Regions from separate parts of the Homo sapiens genome. Here region 1 is linked to region 2. Evidence: promoter capture Hi-C in human tissues and cell types (Jung and others, 2019). All regions are on one chromosome and are shown on one strand. Each heading gives the region's core, a stretch centred on a gene start or on the middle of the fragment in contact. The rest is flanking DNA. Distances are from core to core; before and after follow the strand shown. Region 1 overlaps KAZN (kazrin, periplakin interacting protein). Region 2 holds the start of CTRC (chymotrypsin C).

Region 1 (3,342 bases), core at 143-2,642, 330 kb after region 2:
GGTAGAGACCGGGTTTTGCCATGTTGCCCAGGCTAGTCTCCAGCTCCTGGGCTCAAGTGATCTACCGGCCTCGACCTCCCAAAGTGGTGTGATTACAAGTGTGAGCCACCGTGCCTGGCCAGCCCTGGTCTTAACAAGCTACCCTATGCACAGAAAGTGGTTGTCTTTCTGTAGACAAAGGAATACGGGGTGACCTTGGCCTCCAGTGTGCCAAAATATCCTCCCTCCTTATTTTTTCCACAGTGGCTGAAATCCCCCCATCTAGGCCTTTGGATAAGATGAAAACACGAAAACTCCAGGGCATAAGCCAAGCACAGGGCCAAGGTCTTTGGAAGCTTTGAACCGACCTATTAAGTATTTCTAGTCACTTAGACCTCGAGGAAATGGTACGTTAGAAGGGGAACTTTTGATGAGGGAACGTTATGGAGAATGGGGCATCTCACTGGACTCTCCTGAGTCAATGTAGAGAACCCTGGGCACTAAATAGGCATCATGGTGCAGGAAGGAAGGTTGGGGGTTGGGAGTCAGCCTCCACCAGGTGGGCCAGCCCGAGCATTGAGTCTCAACCCATTAACCAAGGATTTACAAGGGCAGAGAGGCACAAGATGCTGTGCTGGAGAAAATGAATGGGAAGGAAAGAGTACTCGAGGGCCACCCACTACGTGCTGGGCACACTGTCAGCTCCTCACCACGGTGGCTCAGCAAACCCTCTGCAAAGCCCTGGGAAGAAGGAGTGATCATCCCCATTGCAAGCTGAAAAAACCGTGGCTCAGAGAGGGTAAATTTCTTGTCTAAAATCACACGATGATGGCGGAGGAGCCAGAATGTGGCCTCAAAGGCCCCGCTGGGTCCCATTGCACACAGGCCCACGCCTCTGGGCACTCAGCTGACCCAGTGCCTGGAGTTTGGGCTCACATTTCAGGGATGGTTTGAGGGTGGGGTGGGACAGAATCTCATCTAAGCTCAATGTGTCCTTCCACCCCCATTCCAGCGGCCTGCTGAGTGACCAGAGAATAAATGTTTTCCATTGCCAATGTCTTGGGAAGCCTGTCAGCCGAGGAGGTGGGACAGGTGACAAGGTTCTCTCATTCTATGTGTTTGAGGGTCAAGTCTATTTGAGTTTGTAATGGAATTGTTCTTCTCCATTGAAATGCTAATGAGAACGCTGGAGCAAACTGACAGAAGGGGACTCCTATGCAGCTACTCCAGAGGAAATTGACTGCATGGAGATTCTTCTGCCTCCAGATGAAGGCAGGGGCAGAAGCTCTCAGTTACTGCCGGGCATCTATGTATCAAGCAGGCTGCATACAATTTGCCTCACTGAACCTTTGGAACAAAGCTACAAGGTCGGTATGAGTCATATTCCCCTATTACAGAGGAAGAAACTGAGGCTCAGAGAGTAAAACCTAAAACCACTAGCTCATGTTCAACACAGCAAGAAAGCAGTGATGCTGGGGCTCGAAACCACATTGCAGCCATTGCCCTGCAGAGGAGGAATGGGAGGCAGCGGTGGTGGGGCTAGGGGTGGGTTTGGAATAAATCACTAATATTTATATTATTGGGTGTCTTATGATGTACTGGTTCCTTTGCCAATTGCTTTATGCATTGTCTTATCTCATCTTGCCATCAACTCTTTGGGTGGCAGATAGTGATTACCATACTCATTTTACAAATGAGGAAAGTACAGTTCAGAGAGGTTAAGTAACTTGCCCAGGGTCACACAGCCAGGATTGGTGCTGCTGGGATTTGAACTTGGGTTGCCTGGGGCTAGAGTGCCACAAGGCATTCTGGATGGGTTTATGTCTTCACCTAGTTGTCTATGAAACCAGTTTCTTGCCTGGATGGGAGCCAAAGCCTTTCTTGGATGAGCAGAGACCCTCAGAGATCTATTAAAAAAGGGAAAGAGAGAAAACCTGGAGTGGAAGCAGGCCCTGGGCTGGAACTCCACACCATCCACCTATGAGGTCTTCTCCCATCTCTGTAAGCTTCGTGAAGGCAGGACATGGATCACCCAAGTGCCTGCTCACAGCAGGTGTTCAATGACTGTGGAGGGTGGCTTTTATGGCAAAAGGGGCACTATTCTAGCTTAGATCCCAGGGGAGAGAGATCAGTTCCAGAAAGAGCTTCTGACTAGGAGTAGAGACCTGGGTTCCAGTCCTGCTCTGGTTCCAGTCCTGCTCCTTTGTGTGTCCTGTCCCTGACTCTGTTTTAGTGACAGGCCATATTGCCTTCAAGGCATATTTTTTTTGTTTGTTTTGACTCCTCCGATCCCCTGGCAGCTGCCTTTGGGTACCTCTGCTCCTTGCTGCATCCTTCCTGCCCACTGGTTTTATTCTCCAGGTCCTTAAAGAACAGTCCTATGACTGACACATTGTTGGCGCCGGACCAAGGTTTATCGGGAGATGCAGGAAGTCAGTGTGTGTCAAAGCAGATACCATGAGACCATGGCAGAGACTTCTCCTTGGCGCCTTTGGGTCATGTGCATTGTCAAAGTTGTGGGAAGAGACTAGAGATGACGTCATATTGGGACCCATAAGCTCTTGGTGAATGTGGAGCCTGGACAGAGTCATTTCCCTCTTATCTTATCATTGAGAGGTTCATTGATTTCGTCTCATTCTTGAAGAAGTCCCTGCCCCACCACAACATAAGAACCCACCCTATTTGTCCCCACCAGTCCCTTCTCTGGTGCTCCCTGACTAGTCTTAGTCCTGAACACACCTGTCACCTCATGAGTGGTCAAGAGTTTAATCAGATACACAAATGCCTGCTAATATTCAGCTAGAGCCATCTCTCCAGGGCTCAGAAAAAAGTTTGTTACAGATCATGTGGCTCCAGAAGGGAAGTCAGGGAAAGGGGATAATTCTGAGGAGAAAAGGCTTTTTCCTGTGTCTTTTGATTCATGGCTCCTGGAGGAGGGTTTTGTTTTGTTTTTCTGTTTTGTAGAGATGGACCCTTGCTCTGTTACCCAGGCTGGAGTACAGTGGCATAATCATAGCTCACTGCAGCCTCACACTCCCGGGCTCAAGTAATCCCCAGCCTCAGCCTCCTGAGTAGCTGGGATTATATGGTGCACTCCACCACCTCCAGGGAATTTTTTTAATTTTTAGTAGAGAAAAGGTCACGCTATGTTGCCCAGGCTGATCTTGAACTCCTGGACTCAAGCAATCCTCCTGCCTCCGCCTCCTAAAGTGCTGAGATTGCAGGCATGAGCCACCATGCCTGGCCTAAAACAGAGTTCTTATCAAACATTGTCTCTGTAAGAAGCACCCCAAAATGCTAAAAATGTAGAGTCCTGTGCTCTGCCAGCAGATACTTGTCCTGCAAGTCTGAGGCAGGACCAGG
Region 2 (3,449 bases), core at 276-2,775:
GGGTTTGACACCAGCCTGGCCAACATGGCGAAACCCTGTCTCTACTAAAAATACAGAAATTAGCCAGGCGTGGTGGTGCATGCCTGTAATCCCAGCCACTCAGGAGGCTGAGGCAGGAGAATCGCTTGAGCCTGGGAGATGGAGGTTGCAGTGAGCCGAGATCGTGCCATTGCACTCCATCCTGGGTGATAAGAGCAAAACTCCATCTCAAAAAACAAAACAAAACAAAACAAAACTGGCTGGCATGTGTGCGAGTGCCCGGTACACCTGTGTTCTTCTGTCTGTTTTTAGGCCCCTGCATCATGGTGTGTGTGTGAGAGAGCAGTAAATCCACTGTTATAGCTGGGAAGCTGTGTGGAGCGGTCAAGAACACGTGCTGTTCCGCGAGACAGACGTGGACTCAAATTCTGCCTCTTCCACTAACCTGCCATGTGATGTCAGGCAAGATACTAAGTCGCACGGAACCTCGATGTCCTCATCTGTAAAATGGGGCTATGAAAAGACCCTACCTCTTTTTCTTTCTTTTTCTTTTTTTTTTTTTTTTGAGACGGAGTTTCACTCTTGTTGCCCAGGCTGGAGTTTGATGGCGCGATCTCGGCTCACTGCAACCTCCTCCTGGGTTCAAGCAATTCTCCTGCCTCAGCCTTCTGAGTAGTTGGGATTACAGGTGCCCGCCACCACGCCTGGCTAATTTTTGTATTTTTAGTAGAAACGGGGTTTCATCTTGTTGGCCAGACTGGTCTCAAACTCCTGATCTCAAGTGATCCACCCACCTCGGCCTCCCAAAGTGCTGGGATTACAGGCGTGAGCCACCATGCCTGGCAATAGACCCTACCTCTTAAGGTTGTTTTGAGGATTAAATTGGCTCCTACATGTAAGGGGCCTAGCATAGCGTCTGGCACATAGTAAACACACAGGAAACAGGAGCTGCTATTATTACTGTTGTTGTTGTTAGCTGGAAGGACTCTTCATTAAGTGCTCTCCTTTGCCAAAAAAGTTAGTGAGATTTAGAGAGGTGAAATGACTTTTCCAGGTCCTGCAGAGAAGAAGTGGCATTTAAGCTAAGTCCCTGGGCTCCTAATCTGGGAAAACGCCACCAAAATGATGGAATGGAGAATCCTCAAGGGAGAGAGAATGCTGGGAAAGGCAGACCCCGATGGTCCCTGGGGTGAACCCAGGATGAGGCATCTCGTGTCCCTCCCCCTTGCGTGGTGCTTTCCACACCTCATTTCTAACTGGGGACACGTCAGATCATCTTCCCTGTTTTGCAGATGTGGAAACAGAGTTGGCAGGCAGGCTGTGGCTTGTCTGACACACAGCTGGTTGGTAGCATCTGAACCCACAGGGGACCCCAAAGTGTCTTACCTGGAGAGCAGAGGCCCCCCCACTCCCCATCCCGTCCTTGCCCTGGAGGCCAGCCCGAGCTCACAGCCTGCTAGCTGCAGCCCCACCCCACCGCTTACCACAGGCCAAGAGCGCAGCGAGGACAGTGATGCCCAACATGGTTAGGTGCTCAGGACTGGCTGACCATCGGGATGGGCTGGGGCACACTTATAGGCAGGAGCAGGTGAGTGCACCTGGTCAAGGCCAAACCGCCCCTTGGAGAGAAACCTGCTCTGATAAGGCCCTTTCCCTGACCTTGGGTGGTTACTGTTTAATTTGGGCAGGAGACAGGGCTTTCTTAGAAGTATGGATTTTCCAAATATCCTGAAACAGAAAATTCTGAGTTGCAGTGCTTTTTGGCATCCCCCACCCCACTCTGTTTGACGTGTGTGTTCATTCTCTCTCCCTACCTTATACTATTTATTTATTTATTTGGAGATGGAGTCTTGCTCTGTTGCCCAGGCTGAAATGCAGTGGCACAGTCTCAGCTCACTGCAACCTCCACCTCCCGGGCTCAAACGATTCTCGTGCCTTAGCCCCCTGTGTAGCTGGGACTACAGGCGCCTGCCACCACGCCAGGTTAATCTTTTGTATTTTATTTATTTTTTTGAGACAGGATCTTGCTCTGTCACCCAGGCTGGAGTCTCAGCTCACTACAACCTCCGCCTCCCGAGTTCAAGCGATTCTCCTGTCTCAGCCTCCCAAGTAGCTGGGACTACAGATGTGTGCCACCATTTTTTTTTTTTTTTTTTTTTTGTATTTTAGTAGAGACAGGGTTTCACCCTGTTGCCTAGGGTGGTCTTGAACTCCTGAGCTTAGGCAATCTGCCTACCTCAGCCTCCCAAAGTGCTAGGATTACAGGTGTGATTACAGGCCGTTACCTTATTCTTTTTAGTTATTTATTGGGCACCTACTGTGTGTCAGGCATTGCGCTCAATTCTTCTTGCATTATCTCACTTAATTCTTCCAACAACATGAAATAGACGCGGTTATCTGCTCTGAGGTGAGATGAGAAAGGACCAGGCGCAGTGGTGCATGCCTGTAGTCCCAGCTACTCCTGAGGCCAAGGTAGGAGGATCGCTTGAGCCCAGGAGTTCGAGGCTGCAGTGAGCCGTGATCGTGCCACACTGCATTCCAGCGCGGGTGACAGAACAAGACCTTGTCTCTAAAAAAATAAAATAAAAGTGAGGAAGCTGAGACTCAGCGGGTAAGTGACCATCTAGGGTCACACGGCTGGGCAGCAGCAGAGCCAGACTTTGAAGCCAAAGCTTCTAACACCAGCCTGGGGCTTCAAGCTGTGGAGACATGCTGCTCCTTCTCTGCCTTTCTAGTGCTATTGGATCGCTTCCTGGCTCTCTCTCTGTCTCATCTTTCTAATTGCCTGGGCTTGATGCACTCCTGCACCTGCCTCCAGGGCTGTGGTTGGAGGCAGGGATGCAGCAGGCTCTGGAAGGTGCTTAGTTGGCCAGATTCCTTCCTGGAGTCAGCTTAGTTGTAGGTCCTCAGTTTCCCCATCTCTAAAATGGGCAAAAGGACCAGATGGACTTTCAGGCTCCTTTCAGTTCTACAATTCTGTAACTTGAATGTCAAGGTCAGTGGCAGATCTGAGGGCCCAAAGCACTGAGTAGCAGAAATTCTACCAGAGCCTCCGGCATTCGGGGTTGGCCATCCCTTGGAACATGTGGTTTGATCCATTCGCCCCAAGGCCTGGCCTCAGCCTGGTTGGTTAGATTCTGTCTTTCGTTTCCCCTCTACTCATACTGAGCTCCCCTTGAAGGTCATTTTCTGAGCTGGGCCTACTGGCCACCTTAGGAATTCCTTCCTGATAGAAAAGTTCAGAGCACTACGCACCCCGCCATTCATAGCGGTGATCTGGGGGTGAAGGAGGATTCTAACTTACACTTTTTTTTTTTGAGAGTCTTGCTCTGTGGCCCAGGCTGGAGTGCAGTGGTGCGATCTCAGCTCACTGCAACCTCCACCCCTGGGTTCAAGCAATTCTGCTTCCTCAGCCTCGCGAGTAGCTGGGATTATAGATGTCCACCACCATGCCCGGCTAATTTTTGTAT

Evidence for each region. Contacts are between HindIII fragments. The study calls those that stand out against the background at their distance.
Region 1: a contact is called between a fragment that was not itself captured here and the fragment with the promoter of CTRC in region 2, in 1 of the 25 tissues and cell types used here (dorsolateral prefrontal cortex).

Annotation. Positions count from the first base shown.
Region 1 is chr1:15,105,881-15,109,222 of GRCh38, reverse strand. All of the region lies in intron 13 of KAZN (kazrin, periplakin interacting protein), which reads right to left. Among named protein-coding and RNA genes, the nearest start is that of TMEM51-AS1, 45 kb to the left of the region's middle. The HindIII fragment of the contact is 5,129 bases long and covers 1-3,342 here.
Region 2 is chr1:15,436,519-15,439,967 of GRCh38, reverse strand. CTRC (chymotrypsin C) reads right to left here and starts at 1,525. Exons shown (of 8, transcript NM_007272.3): 1 at 1,464-1,525. The coding sequence starts at 1,503. The HindIII fragment of the contact is 5,601 bases long and covers 1-3,449 here.